2 separate regions of the Homo sapiens genome follow, and region 1 is linked to region 2. The links are contacts of gene promoters, found by promoter capture Hi-C in human tissues and cell types (Jung and others, 2019). All regions are on one chromosome and are shown on one strand. Each heading gives the region's core, a stretch centred on a gene start or on the middle of the fragment in contact. The rest is flanking DNA. Distances are from core to core; before and after follow the strand shown. Region 1 overlaps LOC124900169 (a long non-coding RNA gene). Region 2 holds the start of RBM46 (RNA binding motif protein 46).

Evidence for each region. Contacts are between HindIII fragments. The study calls those that stand out against the background at their distance.
Region 1: a contact is called between a fragment that was not itself captured here and the fragment with the promoter of RBM46 in region 2, in 3 of the 25 tissues and cell types used here (heart left ventricle, ovary and thymus).

What each region holds. Positions count from the first base shown.
Region 1 is chr4:154,730,680-154,737,783 of GRCh38, reverse strand. LOC124900169 (a long non-coding RNA gene) reads right to left here. Exons shown (of 6, transcript XR_007058343.1): 5 at 5,998-6,101; 6 at 1,649-1,757. Among named protein-coding and RNA genes, the nearest start is that of LRAT, 9.8 kb to the left of the region's middle. The HindIII fragment of the contact is 4,930 bases long and covers 1,336-6,265 here.
Region 2 is chr4:154,776,320-154,782,660 of GRCh38, reverse strand. RBM46 (RNA binding motif protein 46) reads right to left here and starts at 1,389. Exons shown (of 5, transcript NM_144979.5): 1 at 1,225-1,389. LOC105377500 (a long non-coding RNA gene) reads left to right here and starts at 788. Exons shown (of 4, transcript NR_188451.1): 1 at 788-872. The HindIII fragment of the contact is 6,453 bases long and covers 1-5,348 here.

The DNA.
Region 1 (7,104 bases), core at 2,551-5,050, 47 kb after region 2:
TCTTAACTGCTAGTCAATTTTCAGGGGAGTAATTATAAGAAAAAGAAGATCAATCACTGTCTAGTACTTAGAAAACCTAATAGGATCCATAATAACTGTTTTAAAAGGAAAAAAGAAGTCATTCATACTGCAGTAAAGGAGTAATTCCATAGCAAAACAAGAAGAGATTGAGCAGGAGTTTGGCAGCAATTGGTGTTGAAAATCAATGGCTCCTTTAATAATGTATCTTCAATTGCAGAGAAATTTTAAGTGACATAGGCACACTATCTCATCAATGATTTGTAGCAATACTTATTGTTGATATGTTTTTTGAAAATACAATGTCTAATATCTAAAGTTAATCTGAAAGGTCAGTGTACCATTCTGGTCTTTTGTAGTTACATTTACTTTTTCAAATGTTTAAAAATTTTTTAGTTCAAAGTAACAATTGTACAGTATCATGGGGTACATAGTGATGTTTTGATACATATCATGCATAGTGATCAGATCAGGGTAATTAGCATATCCATCATCTCAAACATTTATCATTTATTTGTGTTGAGAACACTCAACATCCTCCTTCTAGCTATTTGAAACTACATAATATTATTAACTATAGTCATCCTACAGTGTTATAAATATACTCTTATCTCACACCATGCTAAAAATTCAATGTAGTTCAACTGAAGCTGATTCATACCTAAAAGTCTCATACAACTATAGAAAAAAAAATGGATTTTTGTCTCCAACTTCTTAATTGGGAGAACTCCAAGTGGGCAGCTCTCTTAAGAACCAAGCTGCCTGTGTTTGCCTCTGTAGGTACAAACTACACACTTGACTTAAGTACACTTATTTTTATCCTGGTTTCCCTCTACAGTGACTTGCCTTTAAGTCAGATTACGTAGAATTACTTTCATTTTATTAACATCCAGACTTTACTCATAAAGAATGTGAGTGGAACTGAAATTGGATCACATAGGATTAATTTTTTAAAATTCAGTAACCTTTTCTTTCTTTCTTTTTTTTTTTTGATGGAGTCTCACTCTGCCACCAGGCTGGAGGGCAGTGGCATGATCTCGGCTCACTGCAACATCTGCCTTCTGGGTTCAAGCAATTCTCCTGCCTCAGCTTCCCGTGTAGCTGGGACTACAGGCATACGCCACCATGCCCAGCTAATTTTCGTATTTTTAGTAGAGACAGGGTTTCACCATGTTGGCCAGGATGGCCTCAATCTCTTGACCTTGTGATCCGCCTGCCTCGGCCTCCAAAAGTGCTGGGATTACAGGCGTGAGCCACAGTGCCAACCCAACCTTTTTCTTTAAAGATAAATTAAAAACCTATAAAGTTTTTAATCTACATAGCAGTTTAAACCAGAAATCACAGGCATTTTTAAAGTTCACCTAGTTTAACTTTCAAAAAGAATAATCTAGAATATTTGCCCTTTGGTCATAATTATTTCATGTTGTAACATACATTACACTTGTTCTTTTGCATCTGTCATTCTTTTATCTCATTTAATTCTAGGGTGTTGGAATCCGGAAGGGAGGGCTCTAGTTTTTTTCTGTGATATCCTCTAAGGACATTGTATTAGTCCGTTTTCGCATGTTTGATAAAGACATACCCAAGACTAGGCAATTTACAAAGGAAGAGATTTAATTGGACTTACAGTTCCACATATCTGGGGAAGCCTCACAATCATGGTGGAAGGCAAGGAGGAGCAAGTCATGTCTTACATGAATGACAGCAGGCAAAGACAGAGAACTTGTGCAGCAGAACTCCTGTTTTTAAAACCATCAGATCTCGTGAGACTTATTCACTATCACAAGAACAACATGGGAACGACTTGCCCCCATGATTCAATTACCTCCCACTGTGTCCCTCCCACAACACTTGGGAATTCAAGATTAGATTTGGGTGGGGACACAGCCAAACCATATCAGATATTATTATGATGGGTCTAATTGTCAGAGGCCAAATGGCATCTCAAAAATCATCCCTGAATACCTTAGAACCTAGGAAATCAGGGTCACAATCAGCAGGGAGAGTGACCTGGGGTCTCTTAGATCATGAGTTTTATCCAACTGTGACCTGCCTCCTGCAGAAGAGCAAGTAACCAAACCAATAATGCTGTGAACCTCAGGGTGCCAGGCCACACTCAGCAGGTCCTTACCTATAGAGGGGTCTGTAGAGGATGGCCCTGGAACCAGGTCCAAAGGTTTAGCCAGACTTAGAAATCCTCTAGATTGTTATTAGATTTCCTCCTTTTAGTCCTGTGTCACCCAGAATATTGGCACAACCTACTTCATGATTCTAAGCAAATCAGTTGAACTCTTTGTGCCCTGGTCCACTCATCACAGAAAAAGCAATAGATACTATCCATTACTCCCCTGCTGGTGACTCTCATCGTCAATTCAGCTTCTGAACCTTCCTGGAATTCAATCTAGTGATAGCTGTAGATGGTCATTCTCACATCTCACTGCCAAGTCCAGTATAAGATGACAAAGTCCAAACTCTCTTTCTGTTTCCTTAAATTATGTCTCCTCTTACATTTGTTTTTATTTCTTTTGAAAGGGACTGGATTTTCTTGTATGTCTTTTAGGGCTGCACCATTTGGTTTCCAAATAACAATTCTTCTATTTTTCATCTTTTTTAAAAAAAGTACGTGGTGCTTAATTATAATTTAACCAAGTATTTTGCTTTATAGGTGAAATTATAGAAATCTTGAAGATTTCTCTCTACTCGTTTATGAATCCTCCAATGTAAAATGTCTAGCAGAGGTTTATTCTTTTTTCAGAAAACCAAATTCAAGAAGAATAAAGAGTAATTACTGATATTACAAAAGAAAGATTAATTGTCAAGAAGCTATTTTAATTATGTGCTTTACCAAAAATGTGACTTTATATAACTCATTTTAGCAATATTATCTAGAAATGGATCTTCCTTGAGTAAGGCAACATATTCATAAGAATGTGTTCTGAGTTCACAGTGGGCATTCAATAAAGTTTTTGCTTACAATTTTATCTAACAGTTATATTGTAAGTTACACTTATTTGGATTAGTTAAGAATTTTAACTCTCTTGGCTTATATTCCATAATTATTCCTATTTAAAATTTACATTTATTACCTTGGGTAAGTAGTCATCTCTCCAATTCAAAGTCCCTTTTGACTCAAAACTTCTACACTTCTTTGAGAAAGTCAAAAGCAATACATATTTTATTTAACTATTTTAAAATTACAAATTATGTATAAAAATTATATCAATAAAACATTCCCATATTTACATAGCCAAATAGATTTAAACGTACTGACATAAATTTATCTGTTCCTGAAAACACATGTGTTGTTGCTACCAAATAAGGAAGACAAAAGGGTAGGCTGGGACAGCACACTACAAATGGAAAAAGTGTGGGATGATGGTTAAGAATGTCTACTCTGTAGCTAACTTGCCTGGATTCAAATCCTGGCTCTTCTACTTCCTAGCTTTGTGACCTTTGGCAAGTTACTTAACTACTCTGTCTCAGTTACCTCCTCTCTAAGGTGAGGATGATGATAAAGATGAAGCCTACCTCATAAGGTTGTTATAAGGATTAAATGAATTAATATGTATGTATTACAAAAGCAGCACTTAGTAAGAACTCAAGAAATGATGGCTATGTATATTTTTCTTCTAGAATACATAAAGCAATCTCTTCATTGCCTATAACTCTCATGTAAATTTGGAAAAGGTGACAAAGAGCCGTAGGGCAGTAGGAAATTCTGTAAATGGGGATGGGAGAATTCTAGGCTTGAATCCACTTCAACAGGTATTTATTGAACATTTAGTCTCAAGTTCCATGTGGACATTCCAAAACACAGCAATGAATGAAATGCAGTCCCCTCCCTAATAGAACACAGAGCCTGGTAAGGAGGAAACAGACCTCAATAAACTTTCATAATTCTGTGTGATGTGTTGGAAAAGGATCATGCACTAAAGGTGAGAAATTCATCTACTTGGGGTAGGGAATGTGAGAGAATGAGTAGCTCCTAAGCAGTACCATGAGGAGTCAGAGTTTGTTAGATCTACAGGGGTAGGCATGTGGGTACCAAGAGGGCAGGCAAAGGAAGCAGCATGAACAAAGATGAGATTTAAATAGTCCAGCTCAACTAGAATATAGGACTTATACCTCTCTACGGGTAGAGGTCAAATCCACACTGGGAGCTTGTGGGGCCCGGGTTGTGAAGGGCCTCCTGTGCCATGTGGGGAGCTCAGACTTTATTCTGTAGGTAATCAATAGCCATGAGGGACATTCAAGAAGGGGAATGATGTGATCCAAAGCAACTGTGGAGCAGAGACCAATTAAAAGGTCACTTAGTAGTCCAGGGAAAAGATGAAAAGGGGCCAGATTAAGGTAATGGAAAACAAGATGGAGGAGCACGTAAAAAAGTTAAAGATATTTTTGGTGACCAACTGGATGTAGTGGTGGTGGCAGAAGTGGGAAGAAGAATAAAATGGAACCAGGGATGACTCTGGGCAAAGAGTGAAACCCTTCATAGGAATGGGGAAGGTAGGAGAAAAAGCAGGTTTTACAGGAGGAACAAATGAGTTCACTCTCGGACATGTTGAGTTTCAGGAGTCTATGGCTTTTCAAGTTGGGATGTTAAGTAGGTGGATACATAGATTAAACAAGATCTCTGGAGAGAAGTATGGCCATAGGATACAGATTTGGGAGTCAGAAGTGTGTGGGTGCTACTACTTTGGAGTAGACAAAACTGCCCAGGGATAACACATAGAACGTGGTGAGAAGGCAGCCAGGATAGAGCCCTGCATAAAGGGAAGGCAGCACTAAGGAGTCAGCCAAGATGCTGGGGAAGGAATGAGAGGTAGGAGATGGCCAGGCCGAACAAAGTCTTATTAGGAGAGGCATGTTCAGTCGTGTCAAACAAAGAGGAGTTAGCAAGAGCGTCAAGAGACCATTTGATTAGGCAATAAGGAAGGCACTAGTGTGAAAATAGTTTCATGAGTACCTGACTGCTGAGGGTTGAGGGAGTGAGAGTTAGGCCAAGGGAAGGGCTAGGCAAAGAACAGACAAGCTTTTCTAAAGGTTTTGCAGTAAAGAAAATGAGAAATAGAGGATAAAATGGAAAATATTTTTTATTGTTATTTGCTTTTTCAATTTTCACTTTTTACATTTTTTATGGTTTTTTTTATTGCTATTTTTTTGAGATGGGGTCTCTCTGTGTTACCCAGGCTGGAGTGCAGTGGCACAATCTCGACTCACTGCAGCCTCGACTTCCCAGGCTCAGGTGATCCTCCCACTTCAGTCTTCCAAGTAGCTGGGACTACAAGCATGCATAACCAGGTATTTTTTTTTTCTTTTGTAGAGACAGGATCTTACTATGTTTCCCCAGCTGGTCACAAATGCCTAAGCTCAAGCAATTTTCCTGCCTTTGGCCTCCCAAAGTGCTGGGAGGTGTTACAGGTGTGAGCCACTGCACCTGGCCTACTTTTAATTTTTAAATTTGTTTTAAATGGAGAACACAGGAGGATATTTGTACATAAAAGGAGACTCAATGGAGAAGAAAAACACAGCTAAATAAATAAATAAATAAATGATGGAAATCAGTCCAGAGGAGGTGGGAAGCCATGGGATCAAAACTGCAGATGGAAGTTAGAACTGATGAGGAGGAAGGACTTCTGTTCCTCTGAGACAGGAAAGGAGGAAGGAGATTAAGAAGTGTAGCTCCAGAAACATTTGGAAGTGAAGTCAAAAAGGGTTTGTTCCTACCCACTTTAGTTTGTAAAGTAGATTCTGAAGAAGTAAAATCCTAAACCCAACCAGTTGGTGAGGTCATCTACCAGCCCATGTAGATGACTCAAAGCTTGATGTAACCAGGAAATTTATGGAAGTTATTGATGTGTAATAAATTGACAGAGTGACAGTAGTAGGTCATTTGCTTATATTACAAATCTTCATGAAAAACAAGTTTTAATTCTATTCCTATTTAGAGCATTAATAATTGTAGAAAATTTTACATACATGTTCCCAAAAGCTTGATCTTTCTTTCTCCTAGTTTGTTATAACAGTAAGTTCTCCCTTAGTGCTGTCAATCTTCAGTATCAAACTAGGCATGTGGCAGGATGCTGGTGAGAGAATCATATTAATGATAGACACTAGGAAAATTTAGGCTCAGAGTAATTTGTTAAAATTTGTAATCACATTTTTATTGCATAAAATCACTGTAATATCATTATCATAGTATGTACTATAGAAGAGAAAATATGTGTAGTTAATTGAAAGTGGTTAAATGTCCTCTGGGCTAAAATGCAAAAAATTTTATAGCAAACCTTGAATTTAATTTGAGCTCAAAGTATTAGGTCACTGTACCATTCATTTTTTAAACTCTGACTGAGATAGATAAAATATTCAGATTTCTCCATTTCTCCAAATTTAGTACAAGAATCTTATGAAAGCATTAAAATTGTGTAAGTAATTGTTAGATTGCTTCTTATACAAAAAATATTTATACATTATATGTATAATGTATACAATGTAATGTAAGCTTATAATAATGTATTTGTAATGTAATCTTATACATGCAAATTGCTTGTAGTAAATAATAAGATGTCTGCACATTTAAAAAGAAGAGTAAGATACTCTTAAATGAGGACAAGAATAGTACAGCTTGGATTTGGGCATCAGAGAAAGATACTCTAAACGTGAATATATTAAACAAATCACAGTTTATCAAAGTTTTTAAGTATATGCTTTACAGAAAAAAGAACATCTTCATCGAATGCCTATAGGAGATATATATATGTGTGTGTGTGTATATATATGTATATATGTATATATATGTGTATATATATATGTGTATATACATATATGGGACAAGAAGACATATATATATCATATATATATGAGACAAGAAGATATATATACATATACATATATATGTATATATATACCAGTCTTCTTGTCTCGTATGTTATATATTTGGTGAGATAGTTGGTCTACATTTGTTAAAAATTACCTACTCCCTTCCACATTCCAATGACCACATTGTTAATGCTGGTATTCAGTCTATCACGCTGGTGTTTATTTATACTGCCTATCTTGTGTATTCTTTTATCTGGGATTCAATTT
Region 2 (6,341 bases), core at 140-2,639:
TACAAAAATCAGCTGTGCGTGGTGGCGCGCGCCTGTAGTCCCAGCTACTCCCGAGAGTTTGAGGCAGGAGAATCGCTTGAACCCGGTAGGCGGAAGTTGCAGTCAGCCGAGATCCTGCCACTGCTCTCCCGCCTGGGAGACAGAGCGAGACTCCGTCTCAAAACAAAACAAAAAACAAAACAAAAAAACTCCTTATGATATTTCCTCTTTGATATTTGCCTATATTAGGATTACCACATAACATAAAGGTTACGGGGAATTTATCAAGAATGTAAAGACAGTTAAAGCTTAAAGAACTTAAATATTACCTAAGCTAAATTTACATAGGAGAAAACTGGTGCCCAAATAAATCAAGCAGCTTCGCAATATCTCAGAATATCAACGCCAGGATTAAATGCCGCTGGTTCTGTGGTTTTTCCAGCAGCTCCAAAGAAACATTTTTAAATTAGGGGTTTAAAAACTACCAGATGTTAGGAAACAAAGGCGGTGCCACGACGTGTGCTGCCGTCCGTGTGTCGGGGGAGAGGCGAGCTATCTTCCCTGTGCACCCGCGGCCTCCCACTGCCCACAGCCCAGCACACACGAGGTACTCGGGGAAGAAACAGGGAGACAAAGGCAAAGTAAAGTTCGAGGCTCAGTCCCGGCTAGAACTCCACGCAAACGACTAGGAGCCCGCTAAAGCTCACCCAGCCTGAATTCAATTCTGAAACCAGACTGCTGAATCTCACCCAGCCGTCGGGACGCCCCAGACGGCGTCCAAAGCCTCCAGGGGACGCGCGGACCCTACAACGGCCAGGCAGCGGCCCGGGCCTGCAGCGGTCGTTGGTCGTCGGCGTAAGCGTGTCAGGAAAATAACACGAAATGCAGCACAGGTGGGAAGCGGCCGGAAGGCAGCGGGGGAGAGCGGAAATAAGGCGGAGAGCGCAGGGCGCCGCGGGGCGGAAGAGGCCGCCAGACGCCCCAAAGAGACTGGCCGCTGGGCCCTCACCATGCAGCGCCTGGGTGACGGCGAGGGCGCCTTCTGGCCGGATGCTGCCGGGGCAGGAAGCAGCGTCTCGGACACTTGCCCTCCCACTGCTCGACGGGGCTGGGGAAGGACGAGGGTGAACCCCGCAGCCACCGCCGCCAGCCCCCACTGTGTATTCGGCGTGAGAGTGAGCCGGGCACTATCCAGCCGTTAGCAGTGGTCTGGTAGTGACCCCGTTTCCCCTTTCCCCTCCTCACCCCTTCGGGTCTTCAAATGTTGGTCCTAAATCCCGGGGCCCAACGACCAAAAACCGCCGCCACCGTTTAGGGGACCAGTCGGTCAGAGCGAGGGGGGGTCGTCGCAGGGGGAGGGTAGCCCACCGGGACCGCTCGCGCTGGTCCTCGTGTCTCCACTCGTTTCCCAGCGCGCAGCGCGCGCGGTGGCCTAAGCAGCCCCACGAGGAGTGGTGCCTCATCCAATCAGGGATTAGCTTCGGGGCGGGGCGAGGAGGAGAGAGTGGGGCTAAAGTTTAAATGAGGCTCTTGGGCTAGTCAAAGTGCTTGGAGTGACAGGCATTTCGAGCAATTGGGGTGAAGAGAGCGATTTTTAGGGTGTGGGTGGGCACGGAATAATAAATGAAGGTCCTAGGTGCATTGTTTAGGTGTTTGAAGACGAGGGCTGCAGTGTGAAATTCCGCACTTAAGGGAAAACATAGATGCATCGTAATGGTTCTTTTTCTTGTTTGATGTAGTTTTCTTGTAAACTGCTAGTTTGGCGCAAAACAACCACATATATCCGGTGGACCTTTGAAATTAAGGGCTAGGGGGAGGTGGGTTATAAAGCTAAAAGATGGATTTGCAAATAGGACTAGAAGTATAAAGTATAAGTGGTTTAAATGACAATGACTAAGAAAATGGGTTAGATGAGGAGAACTAGCGATAGGCTTGACGCTACCACTAATCAGCTTGCAGGGACATTTGGCAGAGGCGAACTGCCGAACTGGGTTCTATGCTCTTGTAAAACCAACTTTCACAGATAGGGTTGTTTGGCATTCGGTATGCATAACTTCAGTTTTGCTTCCTTTGAAGACAGCTCGAAATTAAATGCAGACAAGGAAAGAAAAAACCACCTTTAGGAACCAACTATTTATGTATAGATAATATTAGATTCATGGAATATTAGACAATAAAGAACCTAGCTCATGTTGATTCTCTAATTAACAAGGAACTTCATGCCCAGAATATTCACCGAGTAACACAGATCTCCTTATTCCCAACCTCAAGGTGATTTCTTCCACATTAACTCCTAATGTATTTTCTCCATATATTCAAGGAACTAATGAATGTCTACCAATTTAAATTTTGTTAAAGTATATTTTTAATTTTTAAATATACTACAACAGTGAGGAATTAGCAGGGACTTTGGAGCCAGACAGACCCTGTTTAAAGTGGGGATTGTGAGAATAAAATAATATATGATATTACCAAATATTGAGCCAGATGCCAGAAACAATCCTAAGGACTTTTCATATTTTCATTTAATTCTCACAGTAACTTTGGTAAAGTTACTAGCCCTACTTTGCAGACGGGGAAACAGATGCAGAAACCTTAAGTAGTTTGGGCAAAGTCATATAGCAAGTAAGTGGCTCCAGTTTGAAACCTACAGACATAATTGCTATACTATACTGTCTCAAAATACGTCCAGAAACAAGTAGAAAACTTGGCATAGTACTTGATGCACACTGGAAGCTCAACAAATATTTTTTGTAAGCCGTCTGCCCTTTAGTCAATGAATACAAGTGTCATTTTATATAAGATGTATGCATTCAAAATAAAGCAACTAGAAAACCTAGACTGATAGATCTAGTTGGCTTTGTTTGACATGTCACCAATTCTGTACCTCGGGAACTGTGATTGTTATATTGATTACTATTTTTTGCTGCTCTTTTATTTCTCCAGAAAAAGATTCTCCTCATTCTTCATTTTCATGTCGGTACCTTCTCAATTCCTAGTAATTAATTCTAAATACATGTGTTTAAGGTTAAATTATCTGAAATGAGGTTAGGCATATTAGTGGCAATTTAAAACAAGTAATTTCTAGGAATGGCTGTAAGATCCTTAAGGAGTCACTAGGTGGAGATGTTGTGAGGTACAAAGATTGTTCTTGGAAATAGCCTGGAAGGTTGTTGAACATTGCTGGTTTTCTTGTTTCCCTTTTTGTCTTTTTTCTCCCCAAGTATAAAGAAAACCAAATAGACAAGGGCTTCTCAATAGGCATTACAGTCAGACCATAGAACCTTGCCATAGATGAGACAGTGTTGTTTAAAGACCCTTCCCATACTTAACATTGTATGTCATTTTGGTTAGATTTTGTCTAAGTTTTTATTATCCTAAAGTTTATTAATAGGTATACTTTTCAAATGCTATAAAAACTATTGTCTGCATGTACAATTAAAGAAATGACCTTTAACTTTATTTCTCAAGGCTCCCAGAGAAAGAGATCCAAAACACTTTTATCAGCTAGAATTCTTCAGTAACAGATTCCAAATTGGATTTGTTTTAAGATTATTTGAGCTTATGGGAAAAGGTGACCCAAATGAGTAAGAAGGAAGATGATAAGCAATGTAAAGGTGTTTGTGACTAAAAAGAAGTGTCGAAAGATACTTGGCATACAAGGGAGAAAATAGAAGGGGATCTCTGCAAACACCAGAAAGAGAAATAATAGTGACTGTGTGACATGGGAAGTAAAAGTTATCAATAAAAAATTGGAAGGAGCCGGGTGTGGTGGCACACACCTGTAGTCCTAACTACTTTGAGTTAGGCTGAGACAAGAGGATCACTTAAGCCCAGGAGTTTGAGGCTGCAGTGAGCTATGACCGTGCCACAGCACTCCAGCCTGGATGACAGAGCGAAACCCTGTCTCAAAAAAAAAAAAAAAAAAAAGGAAGAGATGCAAAATTCAAGTGGTTAAAAATAGTCTGAATACATGTATTTTCCCCATATAAAATGCAAGCTTTTATATCACTTAGAAGTTAAGATGCAAGCTTTTATATCACTTAGAAGTTATTTTCATATACATTCTGCAAAATACACCCCCTGACAAAGGAAAGAGAAGCAATGGGAAATCTTTAAAATGTTTAACATCCAACTTAGTCCTCTGTTCCATATAAATGAGCCTGTGCAGTGATCTGGTTTATTTTCCATGTGTTGGAGCTTCTTCAGCTTCCTTTATCACTGTGGCAGTGATATGACACAGATCCACCAAAAACATGGCAGCTACTTGCATGTTTATAGAATTAATGATCTACAGCACATCGCTCAGGAACAAGGAACTCTTTAATGTGGTGAATCTTCAATTGAAATGTCATCTCAAACCTGTTTTGGAAGTGTGGATTTGGGGTTTTGTTTTATTTTATGTGTGTAGTAAGTATGTTTATTCTAATTCACTGACCCTTACTTTCTTATCCTGGTTTAATGCATTCTGCCTGACAGATGAATTTGAACTTTTCATTATACTGGAAGGTGAGCATCAGCACCAAGATGACTATATGTGGCGGGAGAGGCGCATTAACATTGCTTTTTTCCAGTTATGGTGATGAGCCATATTTACATCCTGTCAGTGTACCCCCTATGATTAACAACCTCACTTCCCAAGGCAGCAAATCAGAACCTGAGATCTTCTTCACATGTAGCTAATGGCCTATATATGGACCAAACCCATGACCAAGGCCTCAGTTGACATAGGGGCAAACTAAAGGAAGTACTCATAAAGCTAACCCTTTTCAGATTGGTATAAGTTGTTAGTTAACATCAGGATCCACTTATCTAATTATTAAAAATAAATACATAAATAAACCACAATAATAGAAATAGGTGATGCGAAAGGAAATACACATTTTTCTCTGAGAGATCTAGGATTAACTCACAACATAAGAAACTAATATATGTAATAAAAAATAAGTTTCTGATAATGAAGACTGATTAACTTTGGTTGAGAGAGAATGTGATTAAATCTTTCCTGTCTTATCTCACTGGATAAGTTTGGTAGTGTGCTTCCCTGGGTAACAAGTTACAATGAAAACTAGAGCTGTAAGACACCTTAGCAACCATTTGGCTGGGAAAGCTGAAATTAACTTGCCCCAAGTCAAAGAGCCAGTCAGCAGCAATACTGGATCTCCAACTCCTCTCTTCTAACTTTCATTCTGATACTCTGGTTCTCCCAGAAACTTTTAAATTGCATTTTAAGTTTTTTTAAGCCATCATAAATATATTCCATGAAGAAAATTATTTTGGTTGAGGACAACAGGGCCAGCATTGGTTCAGGCACTTCAGTACACCTGGCCATGAAGGATGTGTGAGGCAAAGCACTTTCTTAGGCATGACATTTCTCTCTTAGCACTCCATGGATGGCATCTTCCCTGGATGATTCCAGCTGGGACAGTCCAACTCTGTCATTTGTCACTGCAGAGGAAGCAGAGAGAGACTCCCGTTTGGTGCCCAAGAGGGCACTTTGCTTGCATTTCTCAAATGCAGGAAATAAGGAGAGTCCATGGAACTCGAAGGGGAAAGAGGAATGCCATTATGACCCATAATGCAGTCTGGGTTCTAAACTAAGCATCAGATCTTTCTAATGAGTCACTGTATCTCTCTTAATTTGCATTGATCAGCTTGTATCCACAGTCACTAGGGCATCCCTGAAATCACGGGCTTTTTATGTTTTGCCACCTTTTACGTATTCCACTCCAATTCTGATTCTTAATAAATTAGATACATTTCTCTCAACCTGTGTCTTAACAACACTGAATTACTAAACCCTTCTGACGAGAAAAAAGAAAAAAGGCCAAAAAGCAGTCTTGTTCTGCTGTCAGAATAATTAATTCAAATGTAAACTTTTGAAACATCTACAATCTGTAATTCTGGTTTTCACCTGAGTCCTGTGGCCCTATGTATGTTTGGCAGGCTAACCAGACTGAGTTAGAACTTCCTCTCTGATGCAGTCCAGTAGCTCTGTGTAACCCAAATAGAGGTCTTTAGTTCTATTAATAAATGTTATTCTATGAGATAGAATAACTCTGTAGTATGTGTTTAGTGGGGTAAAGATTGGGTGAGTAGTTTATAGGTCAATTAGTTGGAGGTTCAAGTGGTAAGAAGGGAGTGATCAGTGGAATGACTAAGACATAAATTCAGAATGGGTGTTCAGAAGATTGATTCAGAAGATCAAATGAAGATCAAATGAATGAAATGAAGCAAGAAGAGAAGTTTAGAGAAAAAAAGCATGAAAAAAACGAACAGAGCCTCCAAGAAATATGGAGTATGTGAAAAGACCAAATCTACGTCTGATTGGTGTACCTGAAAGTGACAGGGAGAGTGGAACC